6 separate regions of the Homo sapiens genome follow, and all the other regions are linked to region 1. The links are contacts of gene promoters, found by promoter capture Hi-C in blood cells and fetal thymus (Javierre and others, 2016). All regions are on one chromosome and are shown on one strand. Each heading gives the region's core, a stretch centred on a gene start or on the middle of the fragment in contact. The rest is flanking DNA. Distances are from core to core; before and after follow the strand shown.

The links. Contacts are between HindIII fragments. The CHiCAGO score rates a contact against its expected background, and 5 or more counts as called.
Region 2: a contact is called between a fragment that was not itself captured here and the fragment with the promoter of RSPH4A in region 1, in 1 of 17 cell types (total B cells). The highest score is 8.1, in total B cells.
Region 3: a fragment that was not itself captured here is called in contact with the fragment with the promoter of RSPH4A in region 1 in 6 of 17 cell types (total B cells, M0 macrophages, monocytes and 3 more); the score reaches 9.0 in total B cells.
Region 4: a contact is called between a fragment that was not itself captured here and the fragment with the promoter of RSPH4A in region 1, in 2 of 17 cell types (naive B cells and fetal thymus). The highest score is 6.8, in naive B cells.
Region 5: a fragment that was not itself captured here is called in contact with the fragment with the promoter of RSPH4A in region 1 in 2 of 17 cell types (naive B cells and M0 macrophages); the score reaches 7.1 in naive B cells.
Region 6: a fragment that was not itself captured here is called in contact with the fragment with the promoter of RSPH4A in region 1 in 1 of 17 cell types (monocytes); the score reaches 8.4 in monocytes.

What each region holds. Positions count from the first base shown.
Region 1 is chr6:116,614,779-116,618,084 of GRCh38, reverse strand. It overlaps RSPH4A (radial spoke head component 4A), which reads right to left and starts at 1,606. Exons shown (of 6, transcript NM_001010892.3): 1 at 776-1,606. The coding sequence starts at 1,461. RefSeq lists enhancers at 1,287-1,406, 1,457-1,556. The HindIII fragment of the contact is 5,584 bases long and covers 1-3,306 here.
Region 2 is chr6:116,271,517-116,274,744 of GRCh38, reverse strand. It overlaps a transcript of DSE not described here. Among named protein-coding and RNA genes, the nearest start is that of TSPYL1, 6.8 kb to the left of the region's middle. RefSeq lists an enhancer at 3,118-3,228. The HindIII fragment of the contact is 2,550 bases long and covers 232-2,781 here.
Region 3 is chr6:116,224,516-116,227,864 of GRCh38, reverse strand. The region is part of intron 8 of NT5DC1 (5'-nucleotidase domain containing 1); the gene reads right to left. Among named protein-coding and RNA genes, the nearest start is that of TSPYL4, 28 kb to the left of the region's middle. The HindIII fragment of the contact is 5,275 bases long and covers 1-3,349 here.
Region 4 is chr6:116,289,749-116,292,718 of GRCh38, reverse strand. It overlaps a transcript of DSE not described here. Among named protein-coding and RNA genes, the nearest start is that of TSPYL1, 11 kb to the right of the region's middle. The HindIII fragment of the contact is 6,300 bases long and covers 1-2,970 here.
Region 5 is chr6:116,204,637-116,207,958 of GRCh38, reverse strand. All of the region lies in intron 6 of NT5DC1 (5'-nucleotidase domain containing 1), which reads right to left. It also overlaps a transcript of COL10A1 not described here. Among named protein-coding and RNA genes, the nearest start is that of TSPYL4, 48 kb to the left of the region's middle. The HindIII fragment of the contact is 1,304 bases long and covers 1,399-2,702 here.
Region 6 is chr6:116,118,653-116,121,152 of GRCh38, reverse strand. All of the region lies in intron 6 of NT5DC1 (5'-nucleotidase domain containing 1), which reads right to left. It overlaps COL10A1 (collagen type X alpha 1 chain), which reads left to right. Exons shown (of 3, transcript NM_000493.4): 3 at 1-2,244. The coding sequence ends at 1,080. Among named protein-coding and RNA genes, the nearest start is that of COL10A1, 6.2 kb to the left of the region's middle. The HindIII fragment of the contact is 1,059 bases long and covers 721-1,779 here.

The sequences.
Region 1 (3,306 bases), core at 357-2,856:
GACTTGGTCTCCTCATTTACAAAAACAAATGAGTTGTATTAGATGTTTTCCAAAAGCCCTTCTAGCCCTAAAATTCTACTGACCCTATCATTATGTAACTCTGGAAGCAAAAATCTATAGAAATCTATACATGTCATAAGTTCTAAAATTAAAGCTATAATGGGATGGGCAGAACATATGTAGACTATTGATCATCACATTTTAAGAGACTTGGATAAAATGGCATGTGTTCCAGGTAGCTTGTATAGTGACCAATTCTCCGAGTTTGCGAGGACTAAGGGGTTTCTTAGGATAAAGAACTTTCAGCGCTCAGCCAAACTGAGATGGTGGTCACCCTAGCACTGCCTGGGTTGGGAACTCAAAAGCCATGCAAGCAATAGCATCTACAGATGAGAGACGTGATTGCTTTCACTGGTAGACAATTATTTTTCACAAGCATCCTGGAGAGATGCTTGGACTTTATGGTCTTTATGGTCTTTTTCAAGCCCGAGATTCCATAATTCCTAAGTTTTATTTTGTTGTGTGCCTAGGGTCTTTAAAGAAGCTGGAGGAAAAGGACAAAAAAAAAAAAAGGTTAAGAAAAAGAAGGTACAAGAATCTCCATTAATGACCTGTTTTGAGTCATGTGATCCAGAGTTATGTCATTAACTCTCTTTTACTAACACAATCTTTCAAATATATTTTGATTCACCCACAGAAACACACTCTCACACAGAGATACTCACACACCCTCTTGCTTTGCCAAACATTTATCTTTTTTCCCTCTGAGACTTACAGATTAAAGCCCGAATTGCTGCTAGTCTTCAGCAGGTAAGCCTTAGCATTCTGAATGGTGATCTCAAGCATGCTGGGGGCCACTTCAGAGCCCCCAGGCGCCGGCTGCTGTAAATCATAGTCACTGTTTGAGTCTTCCTCCTGAAAAACGTCAAATCTCAGCTCTTTCTGTTTAGCGTTGTTATAGCTCACGTCCCTTCGTCCACACAGGTGGGGTTTGGGTTGCTGAGACTGTTGAAAGGTGTTTCCTTCTGACTGGCTTGTGTGATGAGGAGTTGATTCTCTTTTATCAGATGATTGTTCCAAAGGATCAGGATAAGGTGTCCCAGCTTCAGGAATCACACTCGTGGTCCTGTCCGACTGAGGTGGTGCCGCGAGGTCTTGTCTGGCCGGAGCCAGGGGAGAAGGAGAGGAAGAGGGCTCCCGCGGAGAGACAGGAGCAGGTGATGATGTTTCTGGTCCCGCGGGGCCACCCAGAGGCGTCTTGGCTCTAGACTGCGGGCTCCAAGGACGGCTGCTTCGGGACTGGCGTCCAGTTTCTGGCCCCTGCTTCGCCTCCAAGGGCTCAGACGACTCAGGCTCAGAATATTGGGGAGAAGCTGCTGTCTTTCCTTCCCATGGCCGCCTTGTTTCCCCTAGTTCTTCTTGGTTTTCTTTTTCTTGCTTCGGGGAGGTTGAGTCCTCCATGGAAGCAGTTCAAGAAAAAAAATGTTCTGGATGAAAGGGGCGTGAAAATATGGAAGAAGGCAACTCAGTTAAGTTACTTTGCCGCGGTCTCTTAAGCGATTTCTGGGTCCTGGTTGCTCTGTGAGTTGCTGCGTCCTATCTCCATAGCAACCCCAGGCCGGGTTCCTCTCAGAAAAACTCACCGCGCCTGTTGCCAGGATTCGAGGGCGGAGACTAAGAGAGAACGAGAGAGAGAGATGAAAATCCTAGCTTTGTGATTCGGTACAACCCCTGCCCCTCGTTCTATCGCAGCCAATCCGACCTAGACTCGACCAGTCTTGCTTGGAAACCGAGAACTCCAGATCCTGCGCCTTGAGCACAAAGTAGGAAGAATGGCGACCCCATGCGAGAGACCTTTAGGGGTCTGAGACTGATCCAAGTTGTGCTGTGAGGAGCGAGTCGTGCGTTAGTGGAGGGACAGTGTATTCATGAAGCGTGTGTGTGGAGGGTGTGTGTGTGTGAGAGAGAGAGAGAAGGAAGGAAGGAAAGAACGGAGGAAGGAAGGGAGGGAGGGAGAGAGGAGAGTGAGGGGTAGAGAGGGAGGAAGAGACTGACCTTGGTAATCTCGGAGGTGCAGGTAACAATGGGACCCCAGTGTGCTGACCAGGAGACCCCAAGCCTCACATTTAGCGTGCATCAGCTACAACCAACCAACTCTAAAGACTCGGAGAATAGACAAAGCAGTCCTGAGTTTTGTTCTTCCTGCTTATAAGGAATCTCCTGGTGATTAGGCAGAATATTATACTTGAGAAGGCAATGCAGAAAACCTATAAATAGGCAATTCATGGGTTACCCGTTTTCTAATAATTGAAATTCAAATTAACACTAAACTATATTGGCATAATATAATTTTTATTTGATAATGTAAATGTAAATGCATAATTTTGCAATGATTTAAGTTCAAGATTATGACTATTCATTTATAGTATACAGTCTCCAATATGAAGAAGGTATAGAAGATTGGACCATATCTGGACTTAACTATAAACCATATATTAATTAAAGTCTTTAATGTTAATTGTTTTGTATTTCTTTCTCTTTCTAAATATACCAACAAATACTTGGCATTTGACAGTTTACATTGATATAGCTTCTATTTAGCAAGATGTTGCTCTAAATTCTAACTTCATGGAAGAACATAATACTCCTCCATTCAGTGTGGTGAGGGAATCACAGACTAAAATAATTTGATAAAAACTGTGTGCACACACACAAAATGTTGAATATAACTTCTGCTGGTACAGAGACTCTTTAAAGTCAAATGTCTGGGATTTAGAATGCTTGGATTTCTAAAAACAGAACATTAAGATAAACTAGAACAATAAATTCTGGGGTTTTTTGGTAATTGGTGCAAGAGTTGAGGAAGTTAGCATTTTTTCCCCCTTAATTTCTCCCTTGCAGCTGGCAAGCTGTAATGGAGGCTTTTTTTTTCTTTGAAAGACAAGCCAGAGGGCCAGGTGTGGTAGCTCACACCTGTAATCCAAGCAGTTTGTCTTTTTTTCACCAGGTAATCCCAGCACTTTTGTGTTTTTTCTTTGAAAGACAAGCCAGAGGGCCAGGCAAGATGGCTCATGCCTGTAATCCCAGCACTTTGAGAGGCCACGGCAGGTGGATCAGTTGAGGTCAGGAATTTGAGACCAGCCTGGCCAACATGGTGAAACTGCATCTCTACAAAAATACAAAAATTAGCTGGGCATTATGGCGAGTGCCTGTAATCCCAGCTACTCCGGAGGCTGAGGCAGGAGAATTGCTTGAACCCAGGAGGCGGAGGTTGCAGTGAGCCAAGATCGTGCCACTGCACTCCAG
Region 2 (3,228 bases), core at 257-2,756, 340 kb after region 1:
GATGCACTGAATATTTTGCAAAATGTACTGTGCAACACTTTCTTGATATAGGCAGGGTAGATTTTGATGCCAAATTGACACAGTTATATTGGTTTAATTTTTAGTGACTTTTAAGACCAATATATGCATATTTTCTAAAGTAAAATGCTCTTTTTTTTTTTTTTGAGACAGAGTTTTGCTCTTGTTGCTCAGGCTGGAGTGCAATGGCACCATCTCGGCTCATGGCAAGCTTCCGCTCACCGCAACCTCTGCCTCCTGGGTTCAAGCGATTCTCCTGCCTCAGCCTCCCCAGTAGCTGGGATTATAGGCATGCGCCACCACGCCCGGCTAATTTTGTGTTTTTGGTAGAGAGATGGGGTTTCTCCATGTTGGTCACGCTGGTCTCAAACTCCCGACCTCAGGCGATGTGCCTGCCTCGGCCTCCCAAAATGCTGGGATTACAGGCGTGAGCCACTGTGCCCGGCCAAATGCTCTATTTTTAGTTTACAAATGTACATGATGTTCAGAAAATATTTTCAGTCGTATTTTAACAGTTGGCTAGCAACAGAAAAGGAAAATATCTGAGTCTAGCTCTGCATTAAGTCAGTTCAATGAACGCGTACTACTTGAAAAAGCAGCCGGGCAGGGTGGCTCACGCCTGAAATCCCAGCACTTTGGGAGGCCGAGGCGGCTGGATCACCTGAGGTCAGGAGTTCGAGACCAGCCTGGCCAACATGGTGAAACCCCGTCTCTACTAAAATTACAAAAATTAGCTGGGTGTGGTGGCAGGCGCCTGTAATTCCAGCTACTCGGGAGGCTGAGGCAGGAGAATCGCTTGAACCCAAGAGGTGGAGGCTGCAGTGAGCCAAGATTGAGCCATGGCACTCCAGCCTGGGGACAAGAGAGACTTCGTCTCAAAAAAAAAAAAAAACAAAAAAACATACTTTTTGAAAATTAGTGGTCTGTAATTGTAATCTTGCAGTAGTTGTTTATTGAATACTAGCATAAGTAAGGATTGAATGGGATAGTAAAGGTTGTCTTTGCCCTTGAGGAACTCAGGCTCATTGAGGGGGGTACCGTTCCTTGAATGTTTCCTTTTTTTCTGCAGCAAATACACACATTCAAAACATCTACTGCACACAAGCAAACTCAGAGAGGACCAGCCTGGCTGAGAGGAGTTGACCATCCCCCTCAGGACTGACTTCCTTTCCTTCAACATTATTATATAATTAAAGTCCTAGACTATATAGAAGTGACAGGTATGCTCTCTATGCATTTATTATTATGGGAGGTGTTTTACTTGGAAGCAGTACTTTCTCCATGTTAAGTGCTTTGAGCTCTGAAGGGCCATCTTAATCCATTCTCTCTGACCTCAGAGGTTGTCAAGACCTATAGAAGAGTTTCTATCAAGCCACATTAGGAAAAATGTGGATGTCTACTTTTTGGCTTCACTTTTTTTAGGATTTGTATTTAAGGTAATTTCTTTGAGAACAGGTAAAAGGAAATGGTTCAATTAAAAAGGAAAGGGTCATTTAAGTAAGTTACTAATTTTTGTGAACACCTATATGTCTTAGATATGACCTGATGGGCAGAGAAGGCATACTAGCTTTAAATTAGGATTAAATCCCGGTTTTACAATTACCATGTATTGCATTTCCCAAAATAAACTACTCTGAATCTTGGTTTCCTTATCCATAATGTAGGGATGATAAAACTTGCAGTATAAGCTAATGTTTTAGGATGCATTTGGAGACTGCATTATAAGGTTACAGAGAAGATAACAACAGAAACATTTGAGAGCTTACTTTGCGCCTGACACTGTGCTAAGAGATTTCAAGTATTAATATAGTTATAATATAGAGGTTAGACAGCAAGCATCATGTCTAGCATATAATATGCAATCAATTAAAATTTCCATTTGTCTTCCTCTCAATTTTAATTTCTCATTTAATTTACATTCAGACAAATAGTCATCTAGCTTCATGGTTCTCAAACCTGGCTGATCATTATATATAGCTTTGAGCTTTCAAAAAATACTGATGCCAAGACTCTACCCTGAACCAATTAAATTACAGCCTAAAGTGCAGCTGAGTTTGAGAATCATGGCTTACCTTTTCTTGAACTCCTTAAGTTAGGGAATACATACTCCCTTCCCAGTTTTGTCAAATTGATTCAAATTTGCCACCTTATAAACATCCAGCTATTGCAAAGAGCCTGGTATATCGTAGAGTTTCAGTATATCTATTTCATAGTTTCCCCCCTGTGGTCTTGCAGAATGGAATTAACCTGAATTCAACAAAAGAGGTCTTTAAAATTCATAACAGCAGGTGTCGTCTGTCTTTGAAATTCCCTTGCCAAAAAAGGAAATGATTTCTTAGTGATATGCTTTACTTCTGTTGATCACTATTTGCTCTTTTAAAGTGTCCAAAGATGTTTTAATAGATACTTGGTATTTGTTGTTTTCTTTAATAAAGTATAATTTACATGTAGCACAGGAATGGTCATAGCAGTTTTATTTATAACAGCCCCAAACTAGAAACAGCCCAAATGTTCACCAACAAGTGAGTGAATGAACAAATTATGGTATATTCATACAATGGAACACCACTCAACAATAAAGAGGAACAACCTATTGATCATCAACATGGATGAATCTCAGAGACATGTTAAGTGAAAGATGTCAAAGGAATATATATTATATGATTCCATGTATATGAAATTCACTAGCATAGAAAACTTTTTTATGGTGATAGAAATCCCAGGAATGGTAGCCTCAAGGTTGAGGGGAGTAACGGTAAAGCTTGAGGACATTTGCAGGGGTAATAGTGCTCCATATCTTGAGTTGGGTGATAACACAGGTGTATCCACTTTTCAAAACTTGTCCAAGTATATATTTAAGATTTATGCATTTTAGTGTAAGTAAATTATACCTCAATAAATAGATTTTAAAATATTATTGATAATTTAAAAAATAGAACTTCATTTGCCCATCTCCAGTCTTTTGGCTTCTCTTCCTTGGTGGTAAAAATTGCTGACTCTACTTACAAGATCTTATTTGTGAGTTCTTACTGTTGCATGATTTTATTTATAATTCTAATAATGAAATTCCTTTTTAAAAACTTATTTCTCTTTCAATTCCAGGCCAAAATTGACCTTTCTCAAGATTCTCTTAGTTTACAAACTGAGGTCTGTCATCCTCTGGTCATTGAAGTGAAGTCTGCTTAGGACATATTGTCCTGTAAATAGGAT
Region 3 (3,349 bases), core at 335-2,834, 390 kb after region 1:
AGGGGTTAATATCCAAACTATAAAAGGAACTCATCTCAATAGTAAGGAAACAAATAACCCAATTAAAAAAATGAGCAAAGGACCTGAATAGACATTTCTCAAAAAGATATACAAATGTCTAGCAGTTATACGAAAAAGTGCTCAACATCACTAAGCATTGGGGAAATACAAATTAAAACCATAATGAGATATCACCTCATACCTATTAGAATGGCTGTTATCAAAAAGACAAAAGATAAGTGTTAAAGAGCATGTGGAGAAAAGGGAATCCTTGTACATTCTTGGTGGGATTGTAAATTAGTTTAGCCATTACGGAAAAAAGTGTGGAGGTTCTTCAAAATAATTAAAAACAGAACTACCATATGATCCAGCAACTCCAATACTGAGTATATATGCAAAATGTATGAAATTGGTATGTTGAGCTATCTGCACTCCCATGTTCATTACAGCATTATTCACAAAAGATATGAAATCAACCGAAATGTCCATTAGCAGATTAAAGGATAAAGAAAATATGGTATATATACATAATGGAATACTATTTGACCTTAACAAGAAAGAAATCCTGTCATTTGTGACAACATGGATGAACCTGGAGGACACAATGTTAAGCAAAATAAGCCAGGCACAGAAAGACAAATACCATATGATCTCACTTACATTTGGAATGTAAAAAAGCCAAACTCATAGAATCAGAAAGTAAAATGGTGGTTATGTGAGGCTAGGGGTAGGGGTATTAGGAGATGTTGGTCAAAGGACACAAAATTTCAGGTAGGAGGAATAAATCCATAAATCCAAGAAATATATTGTACAAAATGCAGAGTTAAAAATAATATATTGTATATTTGAAATTTACTAAGAGAATAGATTTTAAGTGTTCTTACCACACACACAAAAAATGATAATGTGAGGTAATACCTATTTAAATAGTATCATTTAGCCATTCTACAATCTATATATATATCAAAATACCATGTTGTACAACATAAATATATAATTTTTACTTGTCAATTAAAAAATAAATGAAATACAAATTAGAGAAAGTAGAAATTAAAAAACTAAGTGTTTATACAACCCAAAATGTAAAACAATTTTTTAAAATGGTATATTTATTATCAGGATGTGCTTATTTTTAAAGTTTAGATTCCTAATATTTCCATACCATAAATTCAATCAAAAAGACTTTCAAGTCTTTTGATGAGTATAATATTTAAAAATATATAGTTTGGATAAACATCATTATTATGTCAGCCCTCAAATCCAATTGTACTATACAACTAACAGAAAATACTGCACAGAAGTCTTAAGATAGGTACTTCTAAAGTAATCGTTTTTTAAAAACTCCACCCTTTTTCTCAGGATACTCTCAATTAAATAGAGAAAAACTACATAAAATGCTGTAAATTGTCAGCATATTTAATGCATTTATAATTTCCAACATGTTAAAAAAAACTTGGTATATTTTTAACGTGCAGTTTTCCATTAATTGTATCTTTGTGTGAAATTTTAATAAAAATCTTATGGAATGGCATAAATACTACTATGGGTATAAAAGGGGTATAGATTTTCTTGGAACAAAATATGCAAACCCCACAAAAATAAAAATAAAAACAAATATTTATTGGGTACTTACTTATATATTTAAATGTAAGTTTGTAAAGTAGGGAAAAACATTTAAATTTTTTTCTGGTTTAATTATAAGAATATTATTAGAATTCTTGATAACAGATTATTTCTTAATATCAAGGATTTTATTATATAAGACTTTAAACCAATATATAAAAACAACATCAACCTATTTCTTTGTACTAGACTAGGGTTTCTTAGCCTTGGCACTACTGAGATTTGGGGCTAGATAATTCTTCGTCGTTGGGGGGTGCTGTCCTGTGTGCTGTAGGCTGCTTAGCAGCACACCCAGCCTCCACCCCCCTCCAAAGTTGCGACAACCAAAAACGTCTCCAGACATTGCCAAATTTGCACTGAAGGGCAAAACTGCCACCGTTGAAAACCACTGCAGCAGATCATTCTCATCAGCACATATACATATTCCAGTATCTTCGATCTTAAAAAAATAAAATATGCCCTTAATCCTACACTGTCTTCTAGCTAAAACCTCAATTCTTTGACTGCCTTTAGAGCTAAAATTCTAGAAAGAGCTGCACATATACCCTGGTTCCATACCTCCAATGAACTACTCAAGATACTGCAATTTAGTTTCTATCCCACCACTCTATGGCAACTGTTCACTGAGGCACTAGTGATCTCCATCTTGTCCACCCCAGGGAAGATTTCTCCTTCCTCATTTCAGTGGACTTTTTCTGTAGCATTTGGACTAGCTGGCTACCCTTTCCTCTTTCCTCTGGCTTCTGAACACGTATTCTACTGTTTTCCCTACTATAATCTATCTGCTGCCACACTGCACTCTTTCTTCTCTATCTTTAATATTAGAGAATGTCAGGGCTTGGTCCAGGCCTTTTGCCTATCTACATTCTCTCAATATTTGGTTTCATATAATCCCCTGGCTTCAAATACCTATCTATGAGCTGATTACTCCCAATACATATCTTGAGCCTAGACTTGTTCCCTTGGACTCCAGGCATATTTATACAATTTCCTAATTGATAGTGACAGTTACATAACTCATAGGCATCTCAAAATTAACATGTTGAAAAATGAGTTCTTAACAGATATAACCCCTACTCCACACAACTTTATCCTCTGTATTTTTCCCCAAGTCTGTAAATGGTACCACCATCTACTCACTTGCTCATTTGAGGAAAAAGAAAAATCAACCACCTGGAAGTTATTTTTTATTACTCCTTTCTTTTTGTCTGCTGTTTCTTTAAGTATCACCGAGCCCTCTGTGTTTTCCAACTCCATAATGTATTTAAATGTATCTACCTCTCTCCATTTCCAGTACTGTCGCTCTGGACCAAACCACGACAGTTATCTTACTAGGGACGCTGCAGTTGCCAGGTCTTCTTCTTCCCATCCTTCCCCACACTCAAACCATTCCCCACCCAGCAGCCAAAGTAGTCTCTTATATCACTCTTCTGCCTCAAACAATGGAACAGCTTCAGGTTACTTGTGGAATAAAATTTAAACCCCTTTCCACCGCTTATGCGGGTGCCTGCCTCCCTAACTTCACCCCCTCCCACCCCATGACCATGTGCCAGAATGGCAGGTCTCTTCTCTGTTACTAGAATGTGACAAAACTACTCTCTTACTGGGCCTTGGCATTCATTTGATCCACTGCCAGGAACACTCTTCCTCTGCTCTTCTCAGCACTTGTCCCTTAGGGCTCGCCTTGCAAGTCACCCTACCTAACCTTTTTGGACAGAGCTTCCCT
Region 4 (2,970 bases), core at 37-2,536, 330 kb after region 1:
AACCTTTCTTCTACTTACTGACATTCAGTTTGTTTTCTTTTTTTTTGTTTGTTTGCTTCCTCAACACTTCAGTGTAATAATCAGATCCTTACTCTGCTCCCAACAATGCTGCTCCCTACAAACATTCTTCCCTCAACCCTGCATCTCCTTGAACTTGTCATCCAGTCTTTCCCCTTTTCTATACTGACAATTATGAAAGAACTGGCCTCACACACTATCTATATGTTCATTTATCATTCATTTTTTCAACTCTGCAATTTTTCTGTCTTGCTACTTTTCTGAAATTGCTCTCACTAAAGACACCCATGCTGTATAGCTGCCGCCCAATTCGGAAACTTTTCTTCCCAGTCTTCATCTCACTCAATATGGCTGCATCCCTTGAACCTTAGCTTCCTGAAGTCCATTCTTCCCTTGCATACTGAAACAACACTCTTCTGGTTCTTTCCCTACCTCTAATGGCTATTTCTCAGTTTCCTCTACTTGTGCCACCTCATCTGTTTCTTTCACGTCAGTGTTCCTCAGAGCTCTATTTTTGGCCTTCCTTTCTTCTTCCTCTACTTGTCTTCCTGGTGTTCTCGTCCACTCTGATGATGTCAACTATCACCTAAACACTCAAGATTTCCAAGTCTAACTGTAAACCCCACTCTTCTCCTGCTCTACAAATACCCAAATCTATCTGATCTACAAATACCCAACATCTCCCTAGAGTCACATGAAACTCTCCTTGTCTGTAGCTGAACTGTTGATCTCTCCTCCCACTACAACCCGATCTTCTTCCTGTATTCCATAACTCAATCACATTTCCACCCATCCTTGTTACCCAAACTAAACAAATCAGTCTTCCTTAACTTCTTGTCTACTTTCATATCTAGTTTTTCAATTGGTTCTACAATTTATCTGACATATTCTGTTGTCAGTTACTACATTCCTAAAGATATCCTCATCTACCCTTGCCTGCATTTTTATAATACTTCACAACTGATATCCCAGCCTTTAATCATATAACCTTCACATCATTTTCCATATGGCAATTAATATTATTTTCTGACACTGTCCATGTCAATCCCCTGTTTAAAAGCCTCCAATATCCTCTAATACCCATAGGATTAACAAATATGTATATATATAATTATATTTAATATATCATAAACATATAATAATGTATAATAAAAAGCCTTTAACTATCAGATTCCATTTTACCTAACCATCACCCCCAACTAATCTCCCTATCTTTCAGTCATTTCCTCAAGCTGGCTGGACTTCTACTTGTATTTGAGTCTTTGTTCAGGGTATTTTAGTCAACCTGGAATTTTCACCCCCTCTCTCTTATTATAATTTTATTTTTCTTATTAGGACTCATCTCAAAATTATCACCTCTGAATTCTTACCAAGCTCTCTTATCAATATAGGAATACAAATTTCCTATTCTGTGCACCCAAAGCCCTTTGTCCACATCTCTCTTGCTGGAACAACACTCTCCTAGTATTATAATTATTGGTATCATCTGGTATTATAATTGTTTGTTTCATCTGGTATTATAATTATGTGTTTCTGTGTCTATCTTCTCCACAACACTGTGGTCCCTAATGAACAAAGTCCATGACTTTCAGATTTTTGTATGCCATCCCACAACTCTTGTGTCCTGCATAAACCTCAACAAATGTTTTGAATTTAGAGAGTTTGGAAAGAACAGACGAAGTGGTCTGGTCTCAAGTCTACGCCTCCAATCTTCTGTGCTACAGATGACATTGCAGAGCACAGTGGTGGCCAGAAAATTGAGCAAACTTAGAATGGGTGCTTTGTTTACTTTTTTGCATTCATAATGCAGTTCTAGGATCAGCATTCAATCAACAATTTCACTGAGGTTGGCTGGAAAAAGTTTCTCCCTTTGGGAGAGAAGTTAGCAGTTAAGAGGATTCCTTTCTGCTTTTGGAATTAGGGAAATATTTCCAATTATGAGAGACCACAAATGGGTAGATGATATACTAAGTGGGAAGGATGCAGATTGTCTCTTCTCAGGATGAGTTTTAAGGAATTATTTCCAAATAAGACTTCATGTATTTCCTGATAACAAACCTTGATTTTCAATAATTGCTCCTGAGTGTAGAACAGTACAAATTAATAAAATATTTATTTGCTAGAGCTCTTATATCCTTGAATTAATTAATCAGCAAGTGAAATCTCTGAACCCCAAGTCTGAGAATCTAGAAATACTGTTAATTTAGAAATATCAGCAGTAGCAGGAGATATTACTTTTAAAATGTGCCCCACATTTAGTAAATGCTTCCCCTGAGGGCACTTAACTCCTAAAAACCATATGTCCTGTTTAGATTAATATATTATAATTAAAGTTTCCATGGCTGTTTAAGCTAGCCATCAGTGTGGAATCATTCAATCAATGCAGCCAACACTGCCTAAGAATCTTCTAGGTGCTAGGCACTAATGATACAGATCCAAGAAAACGAAGTTATTAGAAAATAGGTGGCAGTAACCCTTGAGTTCCCCGGTTACTGTCAAAGATTTCAAGAAATCAGAAAAGCAACATGGCATAGTACAAAGAGCTTTGAAGCCAATAAACTGGGTTTATATCCATACTCCATTACTTATTAGTCATGTAACTTTAGGCAAGTCACCTGATATCTCTGGGATTTCTTAATCTTCACAACAGGGTGAATACTACCTATGTAATGGAGGGGTGAGGCAATTAAATAATATATGAAAAGCATTTAACACAGTATCTATTATGTAGTAAATATTCAATAAATATAAATATTTCTATTTATGATGATGAATGAAATATGGTATTTTTCAAATCAACCTGTCACATTTTTAAAACAGATGTGCATAGAATGGCTTGCTTACAAACCCAGTGAAGTTATAATATAGTCTCAGAGCCAAAGAACTCACAAGGCAGAGTTCTCAGCTAATGGATGAAGTGTTATGACAACCAAAGTATTAAGCTGGATACCA
Region 5 (3,322 bases), core at 801-3,300, 410 kb after region 1:
CGAGACAACATTTCAGTATGTATACACTATGCTAAACTCAGCTCCCAAATCAATATAAATAACAAAAATAATCTGTGATGGGAACCCAGTCCTCATTCCATAATGATCAGTAATGAGGCACAGAGTAAAGAAAGCCTGGGGCGGCTCTTTATAGCCTCTGCAAGGAGTGGGCAGAGACTCAGGTAGAAATACAGTGGGAACCTGGGCACGAGGGGTTCACAGTTGAGTAATGGCTGGGTTCCCAGAATATTCTACTCTAAGCAGGGCTTTTAACCATCTAAATTCCTCTTTTTTCTTCTTTGGTCTTATTTTTGCCTTTTTCACACTGCCTGCTTCCAATCTAATGCAACAAGTTTATATATTTTGGGTATTTTTTAGAATTAACATATAATCATAATAAAATACAATCATATATACTTTTCAAACATAAAGATGAAAGACTTTTTAAACCAAAAATTAAGTAACTCTTTACCCGGTAAGCATGAAAAAAAATCTGAAAAATAAGGTTATAAACTTAGTCTTTACCTATATAATATGGACATATGTATCTATCATCTATCTAATTAAAGATTGTAAAGGATTTTTTTTGCTTTCTCTCTTTAGAATACATTAAGTCCACCATAAAAAAGAAAACATTTACTTCTATAGCTATAGACTCTATTGATCTTAAAAGGAAATGCAGGTACAGAAATATTTTTTCCCATGATTTCTTAAGACATATGATCCATTTATTGAGTGCATACCTTCAATCTTTCAGAATAAAGTGGAAGAAATCTGCTGTAGGCAGGGAATAGGTATAGTTATTAATGCAGAGATATCAGCTCCCAGAGGATCTGAATAAAACAATATTGTAATAATGAAACTATTTTCTAATAAAAAATTACATTCTTTTGACCTAGGAAAAAGTTTGTTAAGAAAGCATATGACATAAGTGATCAGACTATTTATTTTTAAAAGGAAAGATGTCAATATAAATCCAGAGAACTTTAAATTCTAGAATTACTCAATAAACAAGAAGAAAACATTTAAAATCCAATTTAAATGAGACAAATATTTTGCACACAATTATTTGGCAAATGTTAGCAATAAACACTAAATGCCCTATGTGTATTCAATGAAGAAAAATGTGAGTAAAGAGGAAACTGCACTAGACTTCGACCAATTAACAGTTTATCTAAAAACTATGGCAAAGAAAATGTTTTGCCCTCCAGATATAAAATCCATTTAAAACATCAAAAGGAACTTTATCTAAATGTCTCATGCCAGCAAATTAAATCATTATGGAGCAGGGTAGGAGGGATGGCAGAAAGAAATTCATAATTTGCAGGTGACTTCATTAAGAAACAGCTGTTGCTGTTGATGTAAGGAGAGTTGCTATTCCATTTCTACTGAAAAGCTTCAGAGCACAAAGTTCTGTACCAGAGTAGACACACAGATAAAAGTATATTACAGGATATGGTCTCCAGTGTTCCTGGGTGGTATGGACCCAAATCAGACAGTCTTGAGTCAAGTCTTAGTTGTGCAATTTCCTTGGGTAAGTGCTTTAGTCATTGAGAGACTGTTGGCTTATCTATAAAATGATCACAGTTATAACACTCACCCCATTAGGTAATTGTGTGAATTATATGCAATGATATATGTGAAACATTTAGCACAATGCTTTACACATAGTAAAAATTTTGTGTTAGAGCTATTTTTACTTTAACAAGTTCCTCTGGCCTAAGTACAGGCAGTTGATTAACCACGAAATGCTATGGGCCACACTGCATCATGGAATTGCCCTGCATGGGCCCAAAATGCAAGATTTCCCTTATCAAAATGCTACTTACCTTCAAAACATATTTTGAAACATATGCTATGAAAAAACCCTAAAAGTCCTACTGAGCAGGAGGCAGGGTGGTTCTACTTTTTGTTACTTCCAGGAAAAAACACTGGGCTAGATGGTCCAATGGTCTATTAGATCATTCTCAAAGGACTGAGCAGAGAAACTTGGGGTAGCTATTAGAACCTTGGGGACCACAAAACCTAATCTCATTGTGCAGATATGAAAATGAGGCCTAGAGAGGCTGACTTGCCTATCATCATGACATAATGAGGAAAACAGCAGGATGGAATGAAAATCTTGGTCTCTTTGATTTTTTCATTACACATTCCTTACTGTCATATCTACTAATCTTATTGTTTTATCCCCTTTATTAAGACATATTACAGCCTTGTTGTAAAGATGTAAATACAATTAGTGAAAAATTTAAAATGTACCCTTTTAATACAAAATCAGAATAAAGACGGAAACTACACAAACAGCTGGTTTATTCTTAAAGAAATGTATAAAATATCTGAACAGCCTTTTTTCCCCCCCAATTTATTCCACATATTTAAGGAATTTCCTTTGGGAAGACTAGGTCTAGCAAGATCAGATGCTCTGTATATCTGTGTAGAGACTGTGGGGCTCCAGAGGGAGAAGCTGCTGACTCAGTTAAGTTCCAACCTACCAGATAACAGGGAAATTATCTTTCTAAGGTTAAATGTTATTTTAAAATTATCTCGTAATTACTCAAGTAAGATATGTGAACACTTCCAAATTTCCAAATATATGTTCTAAATTTTGAAACATAAAAAAAAAGTCTGAAGTCTTCTCTAAATAGTACTCTCAGTTTCTGGTCCCTAGTATCATTGTTGTCATTTTAGTGTCACACCAAGCTTGTCCAGCCCAGCTTATTTTGTTGTTGTTCTATTTTGTTTTGTTTTAGGCTTTTAGCAGCCTGAAGACATGGTTTTTAGTTTCTGTCTGTAATGATAAGCAGAAAAGAGGGATGAGGAAGGGGTTTTACCGGCCTAACCAGAAACAGAAACTAAGAACCCATGAATGTATTATTTGCTTGGACACTTCTGCACTGTATACTTTTCAGATAAATTTCTACGGACTTGCATACACACATATGTAGTTCACATTTTGGTGTGTATCTTTCCAATAAGGTGTTATGGACTTACACACACATATACATGTATTTTCTAGTACACATTTTGTGCAATTTGCTTTCCTCACCCAAAAAAATGACTTCAAAATCTAGCCACGTACTTAAATCTAGCCATGTAATTATAACAAATAATTACTGAGCACCTACTACACACTATTCATTGTTCTACTTGTTGAAAACATGGACAAAGTTTTTTCTCTCATAGACCTTACATTCTAGAAACGCTTCATTCTTTTTAACCACAACATTGCAATCCAGCATATGAATACAACAGTACTTTGGTGATTTTTTTCATTATAAATTCTGGAGTAAACAACATTGTATCTGAGTCCATGTATACATAT
Region 6 (2,500 bases), core at 1-2,500, 500 kb after region 1:
AAAGGGGAACAAGGGCCAGCAGGTCTTCCTGGGAAGCCAGGTCTGACTGGACCCCCTGGGAATATGGGACCCCAAGGACCAAAAGGCATCCCGGGTAGCCATGGTCTCCCAGGCCCTAAAGGTGAGACAGGGCCAGCTGGGCCTGCAGGATACCCTGGGGCTAAGGGTGAAAGGGGTTCCCCTGGGTCAGATGGAAAACCAGGGTACCCAGGAAAACCAGGTCTCGATGGTCCTAAGGGTAACCCAGGGTTACCAGGTCCAAAAGGTGATCCTGGAGTTGGAGGACCTCCTGGTCTCCCAGGCCCTGTGGGCCCAGCAGGAGCAAAGGGAATGCCCGGACACAATGGAGAGGCTGGCCCAAGAGGTGCCCCTGGAATACCAGGTACTAGAGGCCCTATTGGGCCACCAGGCATTCCAGGATTCCCTGGGTCTAAAGGGGATCCAGGAAGTCCCGGTCCTCCTGGCCCAGCTGGCATAGCAACTAAGGGCCTCAATGGACCCACCGGGCCACCAGGGCCTCCAGGTCCAAGAGGCCACTCTGGAGAGCCTGGTCTTCCAGGGCCCCCTGGGCCTCCAGGCCCACCAGGTCAAGCAGTCATGCCTGAGGGTTTTATAAAGGCAGGCCAAAGGCCCAGTCTTTCTGGGACCCCTCTTGTTAGTGCCAACCAGGGGGTAACAGGAATGCCTGTGTCTGCTTTTACTGTTATTCTCTCCAAAGCTTACCCAGCAATAGGAACTCCCATACCATTTGATAAAATTTTGTATAACAGGCAACAGCATTATGACCCAAGGACTGGAATCTTTACTTGTCAGATACCAGGAATATACTATTTTTCATACCACGTGCATGTGAAAGGGACTCATGTTTGGGTAGGCCTGTATAAGAATGGCACCCCTGTAATGTACACCTATGATGAATACACCAAAGGCTACCTGGATCAGGCTTCAGGGAGTGCCATCATCGATCTCACAGAAAATGACCAGGTGTGGCTCCAGCTTCCCAATGCCGAGTCAAATGGCCTATACTCCTCTGAGTATGTCCACTCCTCTTTCTCAGGATTCCTAGTGGCTCCAATGTGAGTACACACAGAGCTAATCTAAATCTTGTGCTAGAAAAAGCATTCTCTAACTCTACCCCACCCTACAAAATGCATATGGAGGTAGGCTGAAAAGAATGTAATTTTTATTTTCTGAAATACAGATTTGAGCTATCAGACCAACAAACCTTCCCCCTGAAAAGTGAGCAGCAACGTAAAAACGTATGTGAAGCCTCTCTTGAATTTCTAGTTAGCAATCTTAAGGCTCTTTAAGGTTTTCTCCAATATTAAAAAATATCACCAAAGAAGTCCTGCTATGTTAAAAACAAACAACAAAAAACAAACAACAAAAAAAAAATTAAAAAAAAAAACAGAAATAGAGCTCTAAGTTATGTGAAATTTGATTTGAGAAACTCGGCATTTCCTTTTTAAAAAAGCCTGTTTCTAACTATGAATATGAGAACTTCTAGGAAACATCCAGGAGGTATCATATAACTTTGTAGAACTTAAATACTTGAATATTCAAATTTAAAAGACACTGTATCCCCTAAAATATTTCTGATGGTGCACTACTCTGAGGCCTGTATGGCCCCTTTCATCAATATCTATTCAAATATACAGGTGCATATATACTTGTTAAAGCTCTTATATAAAAAAGCCCCAAAATATTGAAGTTCATCTGAAATGCAAGGTGCTTTCATCAATGAACCTTTTCAAACTTTTCTATGATTGCAGAGAAGCTTTTTATATACCCAGCATAACTTGGAAACAGGTATCTGACCTATTCTTATTTAGTTAACACAAGTGTGATTAATTTGATTTCTTTAATTCCTTATTGAATCTTATGTGATATGATTTTCTGGATTTACAGAACATTAGCACATGTACCTTGTGCCTCCCATTCAAGTGAAGTTATAATTTACACTGAGGGTTTCAAAATTCGACTAGAAGTGGAGATATATTATTTATTTATGCACTGTACTGTATTTTTATATTGCTGTTTAAAACTTTTAAGCTGTGCCTCACTTATTAAAGCACAAAATGTTTTACCTACTCCTTATTTACGACGCAATAAAATAACATCAATAGATTTTTAGGCTGAATTAATTTGAAAGCAGCAATTTGCTGTTCTCAACCATTCTTTCAAGGCTTTTCATTGTTCAAAGTTAATAAAAAAGTAGGACAATAAAGTGATGGGTGGCTTTTACAGTTGTCATGGATATGTCCCTATATTGGTGATGCATCTTTATTCCCACAGACCCAACCACTCATTGTTGACTGTGAAGAGGTACCCACAAAACCACATGCAATCTGAGTCAGGGTCAAGGGCTGATGACTAGGGATAGAAAAATGACAAAATCACCCCAAAGTTGTAATTTTCTCCTGGGAGGGAAAGAAGCAGGTGACAGAGAAATATGCAGTTTGAACAAATATTCTGCAGTTACTATTTATTGTCTTGACAT